7 separate regions of the Homo sapiens genome follow, and regions 1, 2, 4, 5, 6 and 7 are each linked to region 3. Evidence: promoter capture Hi-C in 16 types of primary human blood cells and fetal thymus (Javierre and others, 2016). All regions are on one chromosome and are shown on one strand. Each heading gives the region's core, a stretch centred on a gene start or on the middle of the fragment in contact. The rest is flanking DNA. Distances are from core to core; before and after follow the strand shown.

Evidence for each region. The method cuts DNA at HindIII sites, captures the fragments that hold promoters and counts their contacts. A CHiCAGO score of 5 or more calls a contact.
Region 1: a fragment that was not itself captured here is called in contact with the fragment with the promoter of PIGO in region 3 in 7 of 17 cell types (endothelial precursors, M2 macrophages, M0 macrophages and 4 more); the score reaches 10.4 in endothelial precursors.
Region 2: the fragment with the promoter of CCL27 here is called in contact with the fragment with the promoter of PIGO in region 3 in 1 of 17 cell types (neutrophils); the score reaches 5.9 in neutrophils.
Region 4: a contact is called between the fragment with the promoter of RUSC2 here and the fragment with the promoter of PIGO in region 3, in 9 of 17 cell types (megakaryocytes, monocytes, erythroblasts and 6 more). The highest score is 11.0, in megakaryocytes.
Region 5: the fragment with the promoter of SPATA31F1 here is called in contact with the fragment with the promoter of PIGO in region 3 in 2 of 17 cell types (M1 macrophages and M0 macrophages); the score reaches 5.2 in M1 macrophages.
Region 6: a contact is called between a fragment that was not itself captured here and the fragment with the promoter of PIGO in region 3, in 2 of 17 cell types (M2 macrophages and M0 macrophages). The highest score is 6.7, in M2 macrophages.
Region 7: a fragment that was not itself captured here is called in contact with the fragment with the promoter of PIGO in region 3 in 5 of 17 cell types (M1 macrophages, M0 macrophages, megakaryocytes and 2 more); the score reaches 9.3 in M1 macrophages.

The regions. Positions count from the first base shown.
Region 1 is chr9:35,467,625-35,470,927 of GRCh38, forward strand. It overlaps the pseudogene ATP8B5P. Among named protein-coding and RNA genes, the nearest start is that of RUSC2, 21 kb to the right of the region's middle. The HindIII fragment of the contact is 5,907 bases long and covers 1-3,303 here.
Region 2 is chr9:34,661,193-34,664,475 of GRCh38, forward strand. It overlaps CCL27 (C-C motif chemokine ligand 27), which reads right to left and starts at 1,465. Exons shown (of 3, transcript NM_006664.4): 1 at 1,372-1,465; 2 at 1,092-1,224; 3 at 698-887. The coding sequence starts at 1,441. The coding sequence ends at 752. It overlaps IL11RA (interleukin 11 receptor subunit alpha), which reads left to right. Exons shown (of 13, transcript NM_001142784.3): 13 at 290-710. The coding sequence ends at 306. It overlaps LOC730098, which reads right to left. Exons shown (of 3, transcript NM_001320038.2): 3 at 2,971-3,283. The HindIII fragment of the contact is 12,066 bases long and covers 197-3,283 here.
Region 3 is chr9:35,095,341-35,098,488 of GRCh38, forward strand. It overlaps PIGO (phosphatidylinositol glycan anchor biosynthesis class O), which reads right to left and starts at 1,251. Exons shown (of 11, transcript NM_032634.4): 1 at 815-1,251; 2 at 1-226. The coding sequence starts at 225. PIGO-AS1 (PIGO antisense RNA 1) reads left to right here and starts at 964. Exons shown (of 2, transcript NR_186491.1): 1 at 964-1,080; 2 at 2,420-2,804. RefSeq lists an enhancer at 918-1,257. The HindIII fragment of the contact is 7,045 bases long and covers 1-3,148 here.
Region 4 is chr9:35,488,499-35,491,472 of GRCh38, forward strand. RUSC2 (RUN and SH3 domain containing 2) reads left to right here and starts at 1,613. Exons shown (of 12, transcript NM_014806.5): 1 at 1,613-1,674. It overlaps LOC105376026 (a long non-coding RNA gene), which reads right to left. Exons shown (of 2, transcript XR_929580.4): 1 at 2,933-2,974; 2 at 2,621-2,758. RefSeq lists a silencer at 1,282-1,581. The HindIII fragment of the contact is 5,552 bases long and covers 823-2,974 here.
Region 5 is chr9:34,727,471-34,730,851 of GRCh38, forward strand. It overlaps SPATA31F1 (SPATA31 subfamily F member 1), which reads right to left and starts at 2,018. Exons shown (of 4, transcript NM_001141917.2): 1 at 1,814-2,018; 2 at 1,139-1,184; 3 at 552-612. The coding sequence starts at 1,957. It also overlaps a transcript of PHF24 not described here. The HindIII fragment of the contact is 7,130 bases long and covers 1-2,570 here.
Region 6 is chr9:35,573,391-35,576,366 of GRCh38, forward strand. No RefSeq gene overlaps it. Among named protein-coding and RNA genes, the nearest start is that of CIMIP2B, 11 kb to the left of the region's middle. The HindIII fragment of the contact is 7,332 bases long and covers 1-2,976 here.
Region 7 is chr9:35,546,265-35,549,211 of GRCh38, forward strand. RUSC2 (RUN and SH3 domain containing 2) reads left to right here. Exons shown (of 12, transcript NM_014806.5): 2 at 166-2,271. The coding sequence starts at 258. Among named protein-coding and RNA genes, the nearest start is that of CIMIP2B, 16 kb to the right of the region's middle. The HindIII fragment of the contact is 7,783 bases long and covers 1-2,947 here.

The DNA of each region.
Region 1 (3,303 bases), core at 155-2,654, 370 kb after region 3:
ACTCAGAGTCCAAGATCTCTCACTGATGCACAGTCCTCTCCATCAGATCTAAATGAAGTTCCTCTTGGTCTGGAGATGTGAGAGGATCTCCTTTATTCATTGCTCTCAGTGATTTCTGGCTCCACTCCTGAGAAGTTTTCCCTCATTCTTTATCCTTGCTGACCAACCCTGAAGTGGATGTTGGGGAGTATGCTCTTCTTAGGGACTGCAGTTTTTATAACCTGCTTCCTGCCCAGTGTGGTTTTAAGGATTTCCAAACAGTCACAGGCTTTTTTAGACCAGGCTCATAGTTATCTAGTAATACCATTCCTTCAAAACCCATAAGGCTTCTCATCTGTTTGCTTCCAATTAGTTTCATGTATCAGTAACCCCCTGCCCCCCAAAATTCTTTCCTAGACGTAGTTTTTGAGTTTATCCTGTTTCTTTGCTTCCTTGCCCCTCCATGCCCTTCTCTCTCAACTTACTGGCAAGAAAGTTGAGGCTATGCGGAATAATAGTCATGGGTAAGAAGGTATCACCTTTAACCTGAACTTTGCCCGAAGGCTGAGTCACTTTATTCAGTTGAAAACAATTATTGGGCCTTTTTTGCTTAAGGTCTCAATCTTATCTCTTCCTGTTTAGTGTCTAGAAGTCGTAGTTCTTTGATGCCCCAAATTTCTGTACCTCCTTATTTCTGCCTACAAATTGGCTAATTCTTTCCCTAGTTTAACTTTAAAAAAAATTTTTTAGTACAGATGAGGTCTCAGTATGTTGCCCAGGCTGGTCTCAAATTCCTGGCCCCAAGCAATCCTCCTGTCTGGTCTTTCCAAAATCCTGGGATGGCAGGCATGAGTGACTGCACCCAACCAACTCTTTCTTTTAATACCTGTCAAAGGCAGTCAATACACAATGATATTTTGATTCTTTTTAACCACTTCTCTTAGAGCTGCAGGTTCAGTAGGCATATGGTCTACCTTTCAGTTTTATCAAATTCTTTCATGTTAACATGACTACCATATTTTCAGCCTTTTATATCAGTTTCCTTATCACCCACCCCCTAACTGCTAAGCCCCACACGTTTTAGACTTCTGTTAAAGCAGCTTCAATAATGGAATGATTACGTGCTTGGGTTCTGGAACTGGTTCAAAACCTGTTTCTTCTACTCAGTAGCTAAGTGACTTTAGACAAAATTCTTTCTCACTCTTAAGTTCCTCATCTATTATTAAAAGAGGATTATTGTAAATATTAAATAATATGTATAAATACTTAGCATAGTACCTAGCACTTGGTTAGTTATTACTATGTTTTATTACTATTATCTCCCTTGAAAATCCCAAGGAGGGCTTCTGCTGGACTTTCTTTTCTGTCCTATGTACTGCTGCCTAGAGACTGTGAACTATAGGGCCTCCCTGCCCTCCTAGGAGAGGGACGCTTTGCTGAGAGATAAGGCTCTAGACTGTAGAACTGAAGCAGCACATATGTTGGATAAAATGTTAATTTAATTCTTTTTTTTTTCATGTATCGATTTTCCTGGTTTTAGGCATCGTGTGTTTTGTCCTAGCAGTTGGGCATGGCATTTGGCAGAACAAGAAATGCTACCACTTCCAGATTTTTCTGCCATGGGTAAAATATGTCTCTTCATCAGCTGTCTCTGCCATCCTCATATTCTGGTCCTACTTCATTATTCTCAATACCATGGTGCCCATTTCCCTCTATGTCAGGTAGGCTTCTTTGATCACTTTGGGGTGTGGGGGAGGAGCTGACTTCATACTGTCTACTTAATTCCCCAACCAGAGTGTGAACTTTTAAAAAGCATACACTTGTGCTCTTTAACCCCTCACTCTCCACAGTAGGTGGTGTACAAAATGCTCTGAGATATATCTAGAGGTTGCATAAATGCCTTCCATGTCCAGAATACTGTGCTAGGAAGACACTATGTGGTTTATACAAAAAGACAGTTATCCCTGCCCTCAAATAACTTATAAAGTAAGTGGCTAAATAAGACATAAAAACACATGAAATAACTAGAAAACATACACACAAATTTGGTGATGCTTAAAGCATGGGTAGTTTCCCCAGGAAGATAGGCCAGGCAGCCCATAGTTTACCAATGAGATAGGTCCAAACATTCACTTGTAAGTCAATTAATCAGAATTCAGAATCCATTTTCCCACACAAACAGTGTGACAGATGGTAGATAGGTGTAATTGTGACCTAAGTTCAACTCCTAAAAGTTGTGGAAGAGAAGAGGAAGGGTTTCCCTTCCTCTTTTTCATAAGCACCTTGAATGAAAATTTGAAATAGCTGAAAAAAGTATTTACCCTACTCTGATCATCCTTTTCTGGGTTCTGCATTTCCTTACACATACACACACCCAAACACATTTTAGTTTCCTCCTTTCCAGGCTTTCTAAACCCTGTACCGGGGCTTTTTGGCAATAAAAAAAAAAGGACCCTATGTAACTAGATTACCTTATTTAGTAATATTTATTGAGTATCTACTATGTGCTAAGGTTTAGAGAGATTGCTATGGTGGCTGATATGGTAAAGGATGGGAGGGGTCCCAACTCCAGGCATAGAGATTATCAGTAATGAGTCAATGATGAGGACCTGAGCACCTCCTTCCTCACCTCAAAGGAAAAAATCCCCATCTGTCAGTGCAGCTGTCTCAGACAGGGATTACTAATAATCACTCTTATAATAAAGCAGACTAACACACATTAAGTATGAATGATGATAAGAAGGAGACCCCTTAAAAGTCTTCACTGTTTTAAAATGAACATGCTTGTTAGCCATAAAGAATCTATAATGGACGCTATTTGGAGCAGAAGAGGAGTATGACAGAGGCAATAGGGAAAACTTATATAAAATGAGAAGAGGTTGTTGTGGGAGGAGACACACCACAGGCAGGCTGGCTCTGCCTGGAAATTTATCAGAGGGTCAGCCCATAAACTATTCCTGATTTTCATAGCTTCTTTCCTTCTTCTGAAATAAACTCTGAGTGTGTCAAGGTTCTCTGTCTTCCCCATGTGACAGGAGCAATAATCCTCCAATTGGGCCAACACAGCCTTTTATAAGTTAACTGTTACTCTATCACACCTTGCATTACTGCAGAAATTCCAAAATTGTAACTTTTCCTGGATACATTATGGAAAAAAAAAAAAAGAATAAAAGCCAGGTATGACTCAAAAAAGTTAATCAAGTATATCTGGGTCCAGGTGGTAAAGCCTTGGGTGATAATGGCCAAAGTCAGCATTACAATGGGTTGGCTGGTGGGAAGGGTCCTTCAGAAGGGTAGAATCCCAAGGAAGACACTCTGATTTTC
Region 2 (3,283 bases), core at 215-2,714, 430 kb before region 3:
GTACTAATACTCTTCCAGGGTATTAGACTCAGAGCTGGATATTCATCCTTTTTTTTCAAGGTGTCTTGGATCAGTGCTAGGTCCCCTCCTTCATTCTTAATGTGCCTGGGCCCAGAGCTAGGTCCACTCCCGTATCTTCAGTGTGTTGAAGAGGCTCCCTCAGAGCTGGGCTCCTCTACTCATCTTCAGAGTGTTAAGCTTAGAACTGAGTCACCTCCCTCATTCTCAGGGTGTCTGGGCCAAGATCCGGTCTTACTGTCTCTCCTGATTTGCCTCCTGCTTCTTCTAGGAGCTCCAAACCTGTAGAGGACCCAGGAGGGCTTCGGCAGATTCCACCTATAATTCTGTCTTGCTGGTGTGGATAGAAACCAGGCAGGACAGTAGATCCCTATGGTTGGATCTCAGCTGGAAGTTCTGTTTGGAGCCCATTTCTGTGAGACCCTGTATTTCAAATTTGCAGCTGAAAGGTGCTTGTACCTCTGATTTCACCCCAGAGTTGGAGTTCTGCTCAAGGAACGTGTGTAATGTGTACATCTGTGTCCATGTGTGACCATGTGTCTGTGAGGCAGGGAACATGTATTCTCTGCATGCATGTATGTAGGTGCCTGGGGAGTGTGTGTGGGTCCTTGGCTCTTGGCCTTTCCCCTTGCAGGGGTTGTGCAGGTGTGAATAAAGAGAATAAGGAAGTTCTTGGAGATTATACTCAGAAATTATTATCCAATGCTGCTTTATTATTTGGCTATTGGGGGCTTCAGCCCATTTTCCTTAGCATCCCAAAATTCAGCTTGGGCAGAGTCCCATGGAGCTTTCTCTCTTGGTGCTCAAACCACTGTGACAGGCTGGGGTTCTGGGGGTGGATGCAGATGCTGCGTTGAGCCAGGTGAAGCCTGGGTAGAGAAAGGTCCAAAGCTATGACCATAGCTTGGGGATGAGATTAGGGTCATCCCCAATGACCCTAATTAGGGGTTAGGAGCAAGGACCAGATGAAAACCTGAGTTGGCAACAGAATTAGCAGTTAGGGCTGGGGTTGGGATCAGCATTAGGGGTTGGGACTGAGGTCAGAGTCAGGGGTATCAGGGGTGGGAGCTCACACGAAAGCCTGGAGGTGACAGTCCCCGTCAGCCTCCTGCAGTTCCACCTGGATGACCTTCCTCAGTAGCTTGTCTGAGAGTGGCTTTCGGTAGAGCTGAGTACAGCAGGCAGTGCTGGGTGGCAGTAGGAATGCTAGGGGCAACAGGGCCATGTGTTCAGAGGGATCCTGACCAAGAACCTCTCTGCCAGACAGCTGGAGGTTAGGTTGGATTTCCTGGGTCTTTTCAACTTCATCCCATTCACCCAGACCCCCAGCTTTCTATACCCCCAAGTACTCACCTGCTGTAGGGTCTGGGCTCAGGAGCAATGACAGCAGCAGGAGGCTGCAGAAGGTTGGGGGCCCCTTCATGTTGCTCAGCCTAGACTCTTCCTTCTCTCTCTCTCCTCCTCCCCTACCTTTTATCTGGGTGCCTTTTACCTGGGGCACTAGGTGAGTCAGAGGCAGTTGGAGATGTACTGTGTAACCTGTGACACTCCTGGGCCCTAATTCTCGGCCTGTTGCCACAGACTCCTTCCTCATCTAGGATAGCCATTTCCCATGTGCTCCTAAGCTCTGGGCAGTGAAGCTGGGGGAAGGATTAGTGTGTGATGTAGGGACTGATGGAACAGTGAGTAAGGGCAGTCAAGCATCCACAGCAGCATCTAATGATAGACATTCACACTCAAATACGCATAGCCACACATTCAAAGTCACTCCTCAATCACTTGGTCAACCTCACAAAGTCATACTCATGATCAGACAACCGTAGACAAAATTATATAGCCCCGGTTATACTCAAAGTCCCTCTCCCACCCAATTGTGTTTTCACAGTCATCCAATCACAAGCAAATTCACACTAGCACACACAGATTCTGACAGGGGAGTTGTGGGTGGGGTGGGAGCAGAGGGCAGGCAAGCACCAACTTGCCTTCACCTTCTCCTCCCCACTTCCTGGCTTGGCCTGCCTGTCTTATCAGAAGAAATGGATGGGAATGGGTCCCTAGAGCAGGCCCTTCTGGCTGAGGAGGGTTCTTGGCTGAGGCCAGCCCCATTCAGAGAAGCTGGGGGAAGGCCCTTTATGGTAATATTAAGGGTGTTTTGGAGATGCTGAGGTGGGGCAGCTTTCCCCAGGATGATGAGACAGGGAGGAAAGGTGGGGTAGATAAGGAGGGAAGATAAAAGCTCTTTGGTGCTAGGTTACTGTTGTCAAAACAGGTAAAAGGCCCAGTGAATCTTACCTTCCTGTTTTTGTCTAGTCCTGTTCCAGGAATGCCAACCTCTTGCCAGCAGGGGCCTAGGGTCTCCAGATCCAGTCCCTGACTTGTTGAAGACATTGGACTCAAGCACTCAATTACATCTTTGTTTTACTCAAATTCCAGCCTCCTTCCTGGGCCTGGAGGAACATCCCCTCTCCCTACCCGGGTTCAGTCACACCCTCATGTCCAACTGCTATACCCCCTGCATCCCACCCTCCAGCTATAGCCGCTTCTCTCCTAATCCCATACCCAGCTGTCACTCCGTTCTTTACCCCCTCCCTGCAATGCAAAGCTCCTATTCATCTTTATCCAGTCCTTTCCAGGAAGCTGGGAGCTGCCTAGGGTGGGGGTATGCTGCCAAGTTCAGTGCCCCTGGCTCCTTTAAGAATTTCCCACTCCTGGTCCAGGGATCTCAATCTGCAAGTCCTGCTCTATATTTGAAACATAAACCAAGTCATAACACAGTAATCCAGCCCTTATCTTGTTGCAGTCGTCTGCTGTAGGGTCAGCCACTCTCTATGGAGTAGGCTTTCTCTTGGGATAGGGCTTAGGCCTTTCTCTTGTGTCCCAAGGCTTGTTGGGTGTAGCCACTGAGGAAATCCCAAGGAAATCTCCCAGGTTCCTCGGGCTTGTCATAGACCTTCTTCATCACTTGGCTGTGCGCTACATACTTTCTGGTCTTCCCTGGGCTTGTCGGTCCAGAAGTCTTCGGAAGGCAGAAAACAAATGCTTTTGGGTGTGCACCCATCTCTCCCCTTTAAGACCAAGTCTTCTCCCCAGCCACAATCTGCTGTAGCTTTGGCCCCAGCCAGAAACTGGGCCATCTCTTTCTTTAACTTAATCTTGTGGTGCCCTTTCTGGTGCTGGGTCCAGTCCCTAACTGAAGGCAGGCCCACATAGCAGTCCCTGATTCTCACCACTTGAGGAGTTAGTGGGTCCCAGGCTGATTGGGTGA
Region 3 (3,148 bases), core at 1-2,500:
TATCAGCACCAACACAACCCGCGAAAATCGGGAAGCCATCCAGCAGGCCCCAGGTTTCCCTTGGCTCCCCCATGGCAGGGACCCAGGGCCTGGGGGCTCTTGGCAGCTGCTATGGTTGGTGAGCTCCAAACGGGTGAGCAGGAAGCCACTGGTGAAGAGGGCAATGCCAGCGTAGAAGAGGAAGCAGACCCAGGCCAGGAAGAGCAACACTGAGGCTTTCTGCATCCTGATAGGGGTGGGGAAGTAAATTCATTACTGTGGGGCAAAGAACCAGTGGATATTCTGGTCCCTGAATACAAGCCCAGCTAGAATCACTTCCTCCCGGAAACCTTCCTGGAGATAAACCATTTCACAGCCAACCCCTCGCAATATTACTCTCCTCCTATTTCCAGGCTGGGCATGGTGGCTCACGCCTGTAATCCCAGCACTTTGGGAGGCCGAGGCGGGCGGATCACCTGAGGTGAGGAGTTCGAGACCAGCCTGGCCAAAATGGCGAAACCCCGTCCCTACTAAAAATACAAAAATGGGTGGCGGGCACCTGTAGTCTCAGCTACTGGGGAGGCTGACGCAGGAGAATCGCTTGAATCGGGGAGGCGGAGGTTGCAGTGAGCCGAGATTGAACCACTGCACTAGAGTCTGGACAACAGAGGGAGACGCCGTTTCATGAGGTCCCACCCCAGATCTACTGAATCAGGATCTTCGAGGGGTAGAGCATAGGAACGTTCACATGTACAGGCAGGAAATGCTAATGCTGCCTGTACATGTGAACAGTCAGGAGGGAAACTTATTCCAATTGGTAGTCAGGCTCTCTTACACGCCGTTTCTGCGCCTCTCCCCTCGCCAATCTCAATACCCAGTGGAAAGGGATCGAAGCCGCAGGGGAATCCGGGCCCAGCCGACGGCGCCGCCTGGCGGGCACCGAGGGGACGAAGGGGAGGAGTCACTCTCCGCTTCCGGGCGGCCAGGTTCGCCAGGAGACCTGAGGCACGACCTTCGCCACGCAAGGAGGCTGGGGCCCGGGTCGAGAGTCGACTGGGCCTCCGCTGGGACCCAGGCGTGCGACCGGCTCTGCCTCCTCCGGTAACTACCCAGCCTCCCGCTGGGCACCCTAGCCGCGGTACTGAGCACCTTGGTTAGGAGCTGAGGGGAAGAGGGAGACTCCCTTACTTCAGGGTGAGGGGAATACCGGGGGGTGAGGTTCTCGGGAGACCCTGGCTCACCTGCAATGGCACCCGGAAGTGCGGCGGCGGCGGCGCCTGCGACCTGGCAGCACAGAGATGCGTGCGCCAGACAGAGTGGCCCGTCGGTGGCTCCATCGCCATCTGCCGGCACCTCGGTGGAAGTTTGGCCAGGAGCGTGGGGCTGGCCCCAGTTTGATGGGATATTTAGTAATTGAAAATTGGGGACAGGGGACCAAGCTGGAGGAAGAGTTCAGGGAACCACTGTCCATTCATGGTTACGACTAAGAGCACGGCTGCTGGAGTCAAACTTGACTTGAATCCTAGCTTGGCCGCACATATTGTCATCATTAGGCATTACCTCATCTGTAAAATGGAGATAATACTTATTTTCCCTTTTTTGCTTAGCTGAGTCCAACTGAGATTTCATTACTCCTCCTTTCAAAGCCTGTAACTAAATCTTACGACTGAATAATTAAGCAAATAATCCTTCGGAGTGGAGGAGGGGAGGCTGGGCCCAGTGGTTCACACCTGTAATCCCAGCACTTTGGGAGGTCAAGGCAGGTGGATCACCTAAGGTCAGGAGTTCAAGACCAGCCCGGCCAATATGACGAAACGCCGTCTCTACTGAAAATACAAAAGTTACCCGGGAGTGGTGGCGGGCGCCTGTGATCCCAGATACCTGGGAGGCTGAGGCAGGAGAATCACTCGAACCCAGGAGGCAGAGGTTGCAGTGAGCCGAGATTGCACCACTGCACTCCAGCCTGGGCAACAGAGCAAGACTCCCTCTCAAAAAAAAAAAAAAAAATGCCAGGCACGATGACTCACACCTGTAAGCCCAGCACTTTGGGAGGCTGAGGCTGGAGAATCAGTTGAAGTCAGGAATTGGAGACCAGCCTGGCCAACATGCTGAAACCCCAACTCTACTAAAAATTACAAAATTTAGCCAGGCGTGGCGATGTGTACCTGTAGTCCCAGCTACTGAGGAGGCTGAGACTGGACAATTGCTTGAAGCCAGGAGGCAGAGGCTACAGTGAGCTGAGATCGTGCTACTGCACTCCAGCCTAGGCAACAGAGCAAGACTCTGTCTCAAAAAGAAACAAAACCCGTCCACTGGTTTCTCATCTCAGAGTAAAAGTTCTTGCATTGGCTCTACATGGCCCTGCACACTATCTGCCTCTTCCCCTTCTGATTCATCTAGCTGCCACTTCTTTGCTTCCCTAACTCTGTTCCATCCACAGCAGTTCTGCCTCAGGACCTTTGCATTTGCCATCTCCTCTGTCAGCTTCAGTTCCCGATGCCGAAATGGATCTCCATCACCTTCATATTGAAGCTCAACTGTAACATCAGCAAGGCTTCCTGCAATCCCCTACTTTACTAGTTCAGCACCTCCCACCACCACACCCCCTGGAAAAATTTCCCCTCACTTCCTTAATTTCTTCCATAGCACAACTCATCAGCATCTGAAATTCTACACGTATTTATGGTTTATCCCCTCCGAGTAGAATGTGAGCTCATTGAGGTCAGGGAATTCTGTTTTCTTCATGATATCCTCAGCACCTAGCATATATTTGAGGTTCACATACTGACCAAACGAATAAAGGAATATGTTAATTTTTAAAAAAAGTTGAGTTATTCTTCCACCTTCATCCCCATAGCCCCTTATCTCAGTTCAGACCTCATCCCTTCTCCAGGATCACTGAGGCAGCCTTCTCACTGTCCTCCCAGCCTCCTGTGTCTCCCTACTATCCCTTCTCCACATTGCAGCAAGACAGCTCTAACTAAAACATTAATGTGATTACTGTTATTTTTTTCTTTTTTGTAGAGATAGGGTCTTACCATGTTGCCCAGGCTGGTCAACTCCTGGGCTCAAGTGATCCTCCCACCTCAGCCTCCCAAAGTGCTGGGATCACAGGTATGAGTCACTGTGCCTGGCCAATGTGATGTTTTATCTTAAAATTCTTCATGGG
Region 4 (2,974 bases), core at 363-2,862, 390 kb after region 3:
CAGGGATGTATTGAAAACGAAAGCACACTCCACAGTGTGGGAGCAGCCGGAGCAGCGGCTCAAGGGCCAGGAAACAGAATCTTCTTGGGTCCAAATACCCCCTAGAAGTTACCCGCCACTTCATGCTCACCTCATGTAAATGAATTCGTAGCCTGCAATCAGTCTGATTGGTTGCAGAAAGCAGCCAAGCAGAGGCTGAAGTGAAGTTACAAAGGTCGCACACCTGTGCAAACATCTGATTGGTTGCAAGAAGCAACCAATCAGAGGCTAGGGTGAAGTTACAAAGTTATACTTCTATGCAAAGTTAGACTCGGCTGCAGTCAGTCTAATTGGTTGCAGATAGCCAATTTCCCATCTGCTGGGCAGAAAAGTTGGGTGGGGGGTTTGTTACTTAGGTGTGGAAAGTTAGGGTTTTCCTTTCAATTTAGTTCCAGGAAGTTGGCATGAACCAGTCTTAGGTTCCCTGCCTCCAGTCCCTATTCTCCTGCCTCAGAACCATCACCCAACATCCCTAGTGGGTAGCAGGGGAGAACCCTCTCCTGCCCCGCTCATGCCTAACTACCTGTAACAGTTTGGCTGTGTCCCCACCCAAAATCTCATCTTGAATTGTAATTCCCATAATCCCCCTGTGTCAAGGGCGGGAACAGGTGGAGGTAATTGGATGATGGGGCTGGTTTCCCCTGCGCCCTTCTCGTGACAGTGAGTGAGTCCCACAAGATCTGATGATTTTATAAGCGTCTGGCATTTCCCTTGCCTGCACTCACTCTGTCCTGCCACCCTGCGAAAAGGATGGCTACTTCTTTGCCTTTTGCCATGATTATAAGCTTCCTGAGGCCTCGCCAACAATGCGGAACTGTGAGTCAGACCTCTTTCCTTCATAGTATTTCTTCATAGCAGTGTCAGAACGGACTAATACAGTGGGTTTCCCATAACATTTGCAGGACTGCCTGCCCCATCCCCCTCTGGCTGTAAACAGCAGGAGTCACACACAGGCATCTTCCATGTCCCCCACACATCCGGCCCTGAAGGGCAGGGGGCGCATGGGTTCTACGTTTCATCAGGGGTTCCGAACCCTGGCTATGCACTGGAGGCCAACCCCACCTCACCCCACCCCACTCCACCCCAGTGGTTCTGAGTCGGTCCAGTGTGAGGTCAGCCCTCCTTCTGTTGTTTGGTTAGTTTCCACACTAGGTTCTACTGGGAAGCCAGCGTTGAGAACCGCCGCCTCAGGCGAAGCTGGGACTCACACCCACCGGCCCTGGAGGCCCGCGGAAGGTTTCCCTGGGTTCCAGCACCCGGGAGCCGCGCGTCGCCAGGCACCACCCCGCGGGGGCGGGCGCGGGCCGCAGAAGATTGGGCCACGGCGGAAGCCTCTCCGCTCCCTTAGCGGGAAAGCTCTGCGCGTGACTCGGCTGCGCCCATCGCTGCGGGAGCCGGGGAGGGGGCGAGCACCTTAGGCCGGGCGGACCGAACCAACGCGCCGCCCGGAGGGGCGGCCTGAGGGCAACCCAGATCGGACCATCGCGCCACGCCGACAGGGGCCGGCCTTTCCAACCCGCCCGGAGGGAGGGGCCGCCGGCGCCTCTAGCCTGCAACGCGACCCCTGGAGGGCGAGACACGCCGCCGCCGCCGCCGCCGCCGGCGCGGAAGGACGAGGCTGAGGCGAGAAACGAGGTAGGAACGCCTCTCCGGAGGCGGGCAGGGTCCCACAGACCCACTGCCCCGCGTTCCAAGGTCTCCCTTAGGGGAGGGCCTGTCTTCCCACCTATGTGCCTTCAGCGCCTGCCCTTCCCTTCAGCCCTTCCCCCTCGGCTGCACCCGCCCTCTGCGTCCGCCCCGACCCCCTGGGCAGACCTCGTCCCCAGCCCTTCTGACCCTTGGCCTTCTCCTGACCCTTCAGCTCTGCGTCCACCGGACCTTCAAACACCCAGCACCCACCGTCCCTTTGGGCGCCACCCCAGATGCATCCCCAACCGTCTCCTCAAACTGCCCCCTTGGGGACACCCTCCCCCCACAAAACGACTCGCGCCCAGTAGTCACCTTGGTACCCCAAGTCCCTGTGACGGCTTTGGGGAAGCGTGGCCGCCCGGCACCCAGGCCGGCGACTGCAGCGGGGGCCTCCCTACTGCCAGTTCCCGGCCGGGTCCTCTGCTCCCTCCACCCTTTTAGCCCCTGCCTCCCTTTATTATCCGCCCGGCGCCGGCGTTGCTTCAGTCTCTGTCTCTCTGTCATCCAGTTTTACCTGGAGAAAACCTTTGGCTTGGCAGTAACCGTCCCCTACTACTGCACTCACTTGCCGCGAAGGGCACGGTGATCCTGTTGCCCACAGTTGGCTGTGGCCCTCCAGGCCGGCCCTGCGGACACGGGGAACTGTCCTGGGGGCAAGGACGGTACACTACTCATCTTTGTATCCCCGGTCCCCAGCACGGTGCCTGGCACATGGTAGTGTTGCTGGTGGAGGGTCTTCACTACCAGTTGTCCTTTGCGTTTTGAACAAGTAATTGAGCAGCGGAGGAATGAAACGCAGGAACAAGTAGATCTGAGTCAGGCAAGGATTACCACTATGTGAACAGTGTCCGTGATAAAGAACACAGGCCTTAAAAAAAAAAAAAAGGCGGAATTTACAAAGGACAAAGGGCCTGAAACCTGTTTTTATTTATTCCTAGGTGGGTGACCTGAGCAGATTTAGTTTCCTGGGGGTTTGGGTTCCACGCGGAAGCAGGTGGTATCGCTGAGGGATGAAACAATGGCTGGAAAGCTGTAGGAGTTGATAAGGTAGAAAGTAGTTACCTAATTAGTAGTGGCATTATTGTAACTGGGGCTCAAAGTATTAGCAAATAAAAGTAGTGACTGGATTTTCTTAGCCGGCTCCTTAGATATTAAGCAGTGGTGGATGGCTTAATGGAAGGAAGAGCAGATCCAAACAGTATACCTGGTATTCTGTTAGTTATGCCCGTCCTGCTGTATGGCCAGC
Region 5 (3,381 bases), core at 768-3,267, 370 kb before region 3:
CCCAGCATCTCTTCGGAACCAGTCCTGTTCTCTAGAGCTCTTAAGGAGAGGATAATATAATAGACTCCTGTCTAAGGAGTGTCCCAAGTACTGGCCTCACTGAAGACAGAACCGGAGGAGGTCATGTCAGCAGAGTCTAGCCAGAGTCAGGTATTTTCCCTTGAAAGGGTATAGCTTTATTCCCTTGAAAGAGTATAAAGAGAATAAGACAAGGATGACTTCTTTATTCAAAACCCATTCTCTTAACTGGGTAACTTATCTCATGGCTGAGTGCAGCTCCATGTAATATGTTTTATGAATTATACACTAGTAAAATCCTGAATTGTAGAACTGCTGTTACCCTAGCACAGAACTGAACTGGGCAGCTCATCTCTCCTGAGACATGTGAACCCCACTCTTCCCTGGCAACCCTCTCACCCAGTGTCCCTGCTTCCACTGTGTATGTCTCCCTCCCAGCCATTATCTTTCTCCTTAGTCCTGCCCCAGGCCAAGCCAAGAAATCATCATAGGCCAGGCTGGTTGTTGATAGAGTGCAAAGAGCAATAGATCACCTTTTAATGATGGAGAGCAGCTTCTGTGGCTTCTCAGCTTCTTCCCGGGAACGTCTCCTAGCTGAGGAACGGGGAGACAGTGTTATATGGCATGGGATAATTTCATAGGCATCCTATAGGAAGCTGAATAGTAAGGCCTTTGACTCTCATCAAGAAAAGACTACAATCCTGAAAAGTCCGTACTCTAAGGCATGTCTGAGTACAGCATCGCTGTAACACAATGTCCCATATCTAATTTCATTTGATTTTTACAACCACAATGTGATTGAGGCAGGATTGTCAGTGTTTTGCTCATTTTGTGGATAAGAATGAGAGATGAAATGACTTCCACAGGGTCATAAAACTAGTAAGTTATACAATTAAGAACATCTGCTCTACTTTCTTAATTCTTCATTTCCAGGGCATTGAGGTACAGGATTTTGGAACATTCTCAAGTTATGATTTCCCACCCATGGAAATTTCAGTCTGGGGAACTGGAGTCTTCAGTGGCAGAGCACCTGGCTCTTGGCTCCAGAGGTCACAGAGGGACAGGATTCATGGGAAACACCCACAGTGGAAGGGAGTCAGAGGAGAGATTGGGACTTTACCTGTTGATGCTGCATCTCTAGCTCTTTGCCTGACTTTTTGGTGACACTTAGAAGACAAAAACATTAGAATGTGAAGCTGGGACACCATTTTCTTTCTCATGTCCAAAATGAGACAAAACTTACATACATTTTTCACTCGCTTTGTATATATCTATCTGTATTTTATACACTCTCCTGGACTTCCTTTGCCTATTCCACCTTTTTACCCCATTTTCCTTCTCTGCTTATTTTGGATTCACTTGGAGGCTTTTCCAAATTCTATACCTCCCATCTGATTCACAGAGAAGTCCTGCTGGATGCTGAGGATGACACAGGAGGAAAAGCAGAACAGACAAAAGGGTAAATGGTTCTAACAACCAAAGGACTTCTGCTTACAAAGCCCACCAACCGGAAAAATCCCCCATATTCAGAGAGCTTCCGAGATCCAGCAAGATAGACTTCATATTATCTAGTTCTCAATCCAAACCAAATAGAGAGGTTCTTGGCTTTTCAATCAGACTATGTTGCGGGAAGGGCCTGGTAAGGAATTATAGTCTCTGAGAAGAAAAGTATTACACAAAGGTAACTGAAAGTATGCTATAAAAATTCTGGGGTGGGGATTATAAGGGAGCACGGTAAGAACTTATAGGCTTCTTATCTGAGGCTTAATTAGTTCAGTTGGGATCACAGCCCTACCCGGCAGCAGCTCCTTTTAGGTTCTGAACTCAATTCATGGTGGCTCCTTTTCACTTGCCAGATAATTACAATAACGATGAAGATGGAGCCATAGATGTATAAGGGATATCCAACTTCCCACAGAACAAAAGTAGGGCTCAACATGGTCTAAACTTCATTAGCATGAGATCAACCATCCCTCTATCTCGGAATTCAGGGTTCTGGTGCCTAATGAATCCCAGTGCTAGGCCTTGTCATGTCCACCTCACAGAGGACGGAACTAGGCCACCAGACTGCATCACAAAGCCCTCCTGTTTCATAAGGTACATGTAGTAGGGAAGCTCATGTGGTGATTCAGTCTGTAGATGAGGGTGTTTTGAGCCTGGGACTGAAGGTGCCACAAGCAGTGTCTATTTCCTAGTCTGTCTTCACTTTCCACTCCCTATACCAGCCTGATGCCTCGGCTCTCTCCTTCACAACTGTATGGTCACCTGTCCTCAGAAAACTGAGTGCTTTGGCACAGGGGTCACCTCATAAGAAGGGGTAGATAGGCCGGAGGAACCTCCACTAACTCTCCCACTAGTTTTGGTAATATACCTGAGAAACACACATGAATTTAGGGAGGGCGGAGTCTGGTTATGGCTTGGAAATGGAGATCTTTGATGTTTTAGGCAATGGGTGATTGGTAACAGAGGTGCAGGAAGGGGACCATGGCTGATGTGGTAGGGTGGTAGGGAGAGGCCAAGGTGGTTGTACGTATCTGGTCTGTGTGGCCTCAAGCTTGCAGATGGGTTGGGACTGTAAATGCTACCTTCCATGGAGGCACATTCATGCTCAGGGAGATGAATGCCTGCAGAGATGGGTTAGTGGCCGCTTCTGACTGTGGGTCACAAGTGACTAGTTGCTGTTCATGGTTGGATGTATGCTGTTTGCCTGAGGATGTTTTTTTTGTTTGTTTGTTTATTTTTCTCAAATCTGTATTTTGTAAATTTTTAGGCAGGGCATGTGTTTTCCAATTCAGCTTCAGGACCCATTACTTCCATAGCCAGACTATTGATTTACCTGCCTAGCTTTTGTAGATATTGTGATATGCCACCAACACCTCAGTATTCCTGAATTTCCTTGAGAGAGTTCTGCTCTGGTAATGGTGGTCTCAGGCCAAGAAACCTTTGGGCTGAAAATCTCTGAAGAGGCTTTGGTCCTTCCTCAGTATCCAGCCCACCCAGCAGATGTGGTAAGCACCCAATATGTGCTCAGCCCTAAGCTGGGGAGTGTTGAGGATACAAAGACATTTGAGCCGCATTGGCTTTCTGCTTTCAAGATACTTAAAAATGTAGTTTCAAAGACAAGACTAATTCATACAAAGCAAGAGCCAACAATCACTACAAATAGACTTATATACTCATTCGTAAGGCTCTGGCCACAAACATTCCATTTCAGAGAAGAGAAATCATAGTGAGGATCATGGTCATCAGAGAGGGCTCCTGGGTAGTCGAAGTTAAGTTTAACAGTGCAGGTTGTGGGTAAAAGGACTCTTCCTGGTGGGAGAAAAACTTACCAGCTCATGCTGAATCTAGGGAATGGGCCAT
Region 6 (2,976 bases), core at 303-2,802, 480 kb after region 3:
CTAAATATGTATTGTAAGTCCTCAGTATTGTCAATAGGTTCTTGGAAATTGCAACTTTCAGAGAAATGATGTGAAATGATGGGTACGAGAGTTTACCGTACATGAGGAGAGCATGCAAACTCCATATAGACAGTGGTCCTGGCCTGAATCAACCTTTTTTTCCCCTGGCCAGGTGCAACGGCTCACGCCTGTAATCCCCATACTTTACGAGGCTGAGGTGGAAGGATCACTTGAGCCCAGGGGTTCAAGACCAGCCTAGGCAAGACGGGGAGACCCCCCTCTCTACAAAAATAAAAAATAAAATTTAAAAAATTAATTTAATTAAAATTAATTATCTGGACTAATTAGCCAGGCAAGGTGGTACACACCTGTAGTCCCAGCTACTCAGGAGGCTGAGGTGGGAGGACCGTTTGAGCCCAGGAGTTTGAGGCTGTAAGTGAGCTATGATCACACCGCCACACTGCAGTCTGGGTGACAGAGACCCGGTCTCTATAAAAATAAAAAGTTTAAAAAATGATAAAAATAAAATATTTTTTCATATCAATGTTATAAAGTAACAACAGTGAGTGAAACATCATTTGAGAACCTGCTGTACAACTTTCTGTATGTCAATAAAGTGATTTTTTAAAAAGGGAAATCATCAGAGGCCAAAAACTAGGCAAAGGATAGAAGGCACTTTTGGCTTAATGGCATTGGCCAAGCCACACAAACTTGGAGGTTCATTTTCACAGGTTCATGAAGTACTGAGAAAAGGAGATAAAACTCAGTGACCACCCAAGATGGAGAGTCTAACAGAAAATTTTTCCTGCATAAAACTGGCATGCATCAAGTTATGTCCCTTTAGTCTTTTTTTTCTTTTTCTTTGAGATGGAGTCTCATTCGGTCACCCAGGCTGGAGGGCAGTGGTGCAATCTCGGCTCACTGCAACCTCCGCCTCCTGGGTTCAAGCAATTCTCATGCTTCAGCCACCTCAGTAGCTGGGATTACAGGCGCCGCCACTACACCCAGCTAATTTTTGTATTTACTTTAGTAGAGACTAACTTTCACCATGTTGGCCAGGCTGGTCTCAAACTCCTGACCTCAAGTGACCCGCCTGTCTTGGCCTCCCAAAGTGCTGGGATTATACACATGAGTCACCGCACCCCACCTTGCCCCTAGAAATCCATCTGCCCCCCAAATCCTTCCTCAGGGGACTACAAAGAAAATTGCCTATCTCAAAACTTGGTACCAAGTGAAAAAGGGGGACATATTTCCCCTAAAACTTCATAACTACAAGCTGGCTCATGCGTGATTTGCAGATGGAATTCACTCTACCTGAGTAGTCTGAAATACTATCAAGATAATGAGGTAGGAGGTGGGACTGGACTCCAGAGGCAGGGCTCAGCAGCGGACCAAATTGAGGACTAGCTAAAACAGGGATGGGGCAGAAGTGGTTTTCCATATGACATGGCCACCAGTGTGCTATGTCAGTTTACCATTGCCATGACAACACCCAGAAGTTACCACCCCTTTCCACAGCAATGACCCAATGAACTGGAAGTTACCACCCTTTACATACAGAAATTACTGCATAGTCCACCCCTTAATTTGCATGTAGTTAAAAGTGGGTATAAATCTGAATGCAGCACTGCCTCTGAGCTGCTGCTCTGAGCATACAGCCTATAGGACAGCCCTGCTCCACAAGGACCAGTACCTCTGCAGGTTTATTAGGATCTTGGAAGAGCATAATGGGAAAAGAAAGATGTACTCTGTTACCAAATTTTTTAAGTATACACTGCTGCTTCAATAAAAGTTGCTGTCTAACACCACTGGCTCATCCTTGGATTTTCTTTCCTGGGCAAAGCTAAGAACCTCCCAAGGCTAAGCCCCAATTTGGGGGCTCACCTGCCCTCCCATCATCTGGTGATCAATGAAAGGAAAAAGATAATGAGCAAGAGGCAGCAAGTCAGTGGAGACAGTGGCAGTCAGCAGACAGGTGAGATGGTGGGACAGCAGAGACGGTGGCAATCAGCGGTCAGTGGAGAGGTGACGACTATGAGAGACAGCAACTGGGAAGACAGTGAGAGACTGACAAGACCAAGCAGAGACAGCGAGAGACCGCAAAGCGGTCTGTGATCAAGGCTGCAAGAGCTATAACACTGAGGCTGTAACAATAAAGAGCTGCTAACACTAACCAAAGGCTCTTTTCAGAGCCATCATTTTCCCTGGCAGGCGGCAGGGCCAAGCAGACACACTAATGGCCATAATGTCACTGCCTCATGTGAGCTCTGACCATGGCAGGCCAGTGGGTTACCAGTCCCTATGCTTGCCCCCTGTGTGACAGCTGAGCCCACCCAAGCTGGGGGGTCCTGGAGGGACCTTCACCAGGGTCCCACATGAAAGACTGGCTGGTGCCATTTGGCTCCTATGGATGGGTAAGTGTCCCTTCTTCCCCTACTCCATAACATCTAGTGAGCTGGGGAATAAAAAGCCTTCGGCTAAGTGGTTAAAAGTCCCCCACAGTATGAGTGCCCTGAGGCACATCCTTGTGACCTCTCCCCCCTGTGCTTTCTTCTCTGACTCCATATTATTGTTCCACCAATCATTTTATTTTTATTTCGAGTCCAAAAATTTACGTTTCATTTGAAGCGTTATGTTTCCTTTTGACTTTCTGTTAACTGTGTTTGAGCAATTGTTTAAGGCTGGATGTTTAGTTGTGCTCTGTTGCGTCAACTCTGGGACACCAGAGTCACATTGTTCTATGACCCCAACTTGGTCTTGGGTTCACTGTTGGCCACTCCCTTGGTGCCCCCAGGTTTTTGGCATTTGGTGAGGGGACCCTCATTGGCTGAAACAGGCACTCTGGGTTTCCAGCATTGGTATGATAGGCCACTCCCAGATGCTCTGGGGTTTTCAGGATTGACATTCCCTCTAGGATTATAGGTTATAGCCCCACCCACTACGGGAATATTGGTATCAACTTTTTCTGCCCTGAAG
Region 7 (2,947 bases), core at 301-2,800, 450 kb after region 3:
GGTTACGTCCCCACCTGCCTATTGGGCTGTGTGGTCAAGCTCCATCTTGACTCAAGCCTTTTCTCTTCCTGGGCTCTTCTCCATCTGAAAATGATGTAGGGAAGGGCATGCCCCTGACTTCCAGGGAGGTGACATTAGGTTCCCTTTCTTTCCCTCTCTCTCCAGGTGCCAAGCTCTCCTGATGAAATGTGTTCTGCCCCACTGGGCTCCAGGGACAGTGTCTGGTGCTGTTGAAGCCCTTATTCGAACTTTCCAGAATGGATAGTCCCCCAAAGCTGACTGGAGAGACCCTCATCGTTCATCACATCCCCCTGGTGCACTGCCAAGTCCCAGACAGGCAGTGCTGTGGAGGGGCAGGTGGAGGTGGTGGGAGCACAAGACCTAATCCCTTCTGCCCACCTGAGCTGGGCATCACCCAGCCCGATCAAGACCTAGGACAAGCTGACTCCCTGCTATTCAGCAGCCTGCACTCTACTCCAGGAGGAACTGCACGGTCTATAGACAGCACCAAGAGTAGGAGTCGGGATGGAAGAGGCCCTGGAGCCCCCAAACGACACAACCCCTTCTTGCTGCAGGAGGGTGTGGGTGAGCCAGGACTTGGTGACCTGTATGATGACAGCATTGGTGACAGTGCCACCCAGCAGTCCTTCCACCTGCATGGCACTGGCCAGCCCAACTTTCATCTATCCTCTTTCCAGCTGCCACCATCTGGCCCCAGAGTGGGCAGGCCATGGGGGACAACACGCAGTCGGGCTGGAGTGGTGGAAGGGCAGGAACAGGAGCCAGTGATGACCTTGGATACTCAGCAGTGCGGCACCAGCCACTGCTGCCGGCCAGAGCTGGAAGCAGAGACTATGGAGCTGGATGAGTGTGGGGGACCTGGTGGGAGTGGCAGTGGGGGTGGAGCCAGCGATACCTCTGGCTTTTCCTTTGACCAGGAATGGAAGCTCAGTTCAGATGAATCCCCAAGGAACCCTGGATGCTCCGGCTCAGGGGACCAGCACTGCCGCTGCAGTAGCACATCCAGTCAGTCCGAGGCAGCTGACCAGTCCATGGGCTATGTGAGCGACTCCTCCTGCAACAGTTCAGATGGTGTGCTGGTCACCTTCAGCACCCTCTACAACAAGATGCATGGCACCCCCCGTGCCAATCTCAACTCTGCCCCACAGTCCTGCAGCGACTCTTCCTTCTGCAGCCACTCAGACCCTGGCGCCTTCTATCTGGATCTGCAGCCCTCCCCATTTGAGTCTAAGATGTCTTATGAGTCCCATCACCCTGAAAGTGGAGGAAGGGAAGGGGGCTATGGTTGCCCTCATGCCTCTTCTCCTGAGCTTGATGCCAACTGCAACTCCTACCGCCCACACTGTGAGCCGTGCCCAGCAGTGGCTGACCTCACAGCCTGCTTCCAAAGCCAGGCCCGTCTTGTTGTGGCCACACAAAATTACTATAAACTTGTCACCTGTGACCTATCTTCCCAATCATCCCCAAGCCCTGCTGGCTCTTCCATCACTAGCTGCTCTGAGGAACACACCAAGATAAGTCCCCCACCAGGCCCTGGCCCAGACCCAGGCCCCAGCCAGCCCTCTGAGTATTACCTATTCCAGAAGCCAGAAGTCCAGCCAGAGGAACAAGAAGCAGTGAGTTCCTCCACCCAAGCAGCAGCTGCTGTGGGCCCCACTGTGCTTGAGGGACAAGTATACACGAATACTTCACCCCCCAACCTCAGCACTGGACGTCAGCGCTCCCGCAGCTATGATCGCAGCCTGCAGCGCAGCCCTCCTGTCCGCCTGGGCTCGCTGGAACGTATGTTGAGTTGCCCAGTGCGCTTGAGTGAGGGCCCTGCAGCCATGGCCGGGCCTGGCTCCCCACCCAGGAGGGTCACCTCCTTTGCCGAGCTGGCCAAGGGCCGGAAGAAAACTGGAGGCTCTGGCTCGCCCCCACTTCGTGTGAGTGTTGGGGACTCCTCCCAGGAGTTCTCACCCATCCAAGAAGCCCAGCAAGATCGGGGGGCCCCACTGGATGAGGGCACTTGCTGTAGCCATAGCCTGCCACCCATGCCTTTGGGGCCAGGCATGGACCTACTTGGCCCAGACCCAAGTCCACCCTGGTCCACCCAGGTCTGTCAGGGACCCCACTCCAGTGAGATGCCTCCTGCTGGCCTCAGAGCTACTGGGCAAGGCCCCCTGGCTCAGCTGATGGATCCAGGGCCTGCTCTCCCAGGGAGCCCAGCCAACAGCCATACCCAGAGGGATGCAAGAGCTAGAGCTGACGGTAAGGAGCCTAAGGGTTAGCAAATATGTGGCTATTCACCAGCAGGATATGCATGGCCACCTCCCTGACAGGTCCCTGCCAGACCACCCCATCCATACCACTAGAGGTTCCACATCCTAGATCTGTTATCCTTCTAGGCCAGGGCAGGACCCACAGCTACAGTGGAATAGGCTCACTGGAGAAAGACAGAGGACTCAAAAATACACTGAGCAGACTGGGTGCAGTGACTCACACCTGTGATCCCAGCCCTTTGGGAGGCCAAGCCAGGCGAATCACTTGAGGTCAGGAGTTTGAGACCAGCCTGGCCAACATAATGAAACCCCAGCTCTACTAAAATAAAAAATAAACTAGCCAGGAGTGGTAGCACCCACCTGTAATCCCAGCTACTCAGGGGGCTGAGGCAGGAGAATTGCTTGAACCCAGGAGGTGGAGGTTGCACTGAGCTGAGATCATACCACTGCACTCCAGCCTGGGCAGACAGAGTGAGATTCTGTCTCAAAAAAAAAAAATAAATAAATACACTGAGGAGATAAAATCAGCAGGACTTAGAGGCTGACATATTGGGAAATGAAGGATTCAGAAGACTGATTCTGAACCTGGATGATGGGAAAGATGAGGCCATGGATAGGGGCTGTAATCACAGGAGATTTCCTGGAAGAAAAGTTCAGGTTCAGAC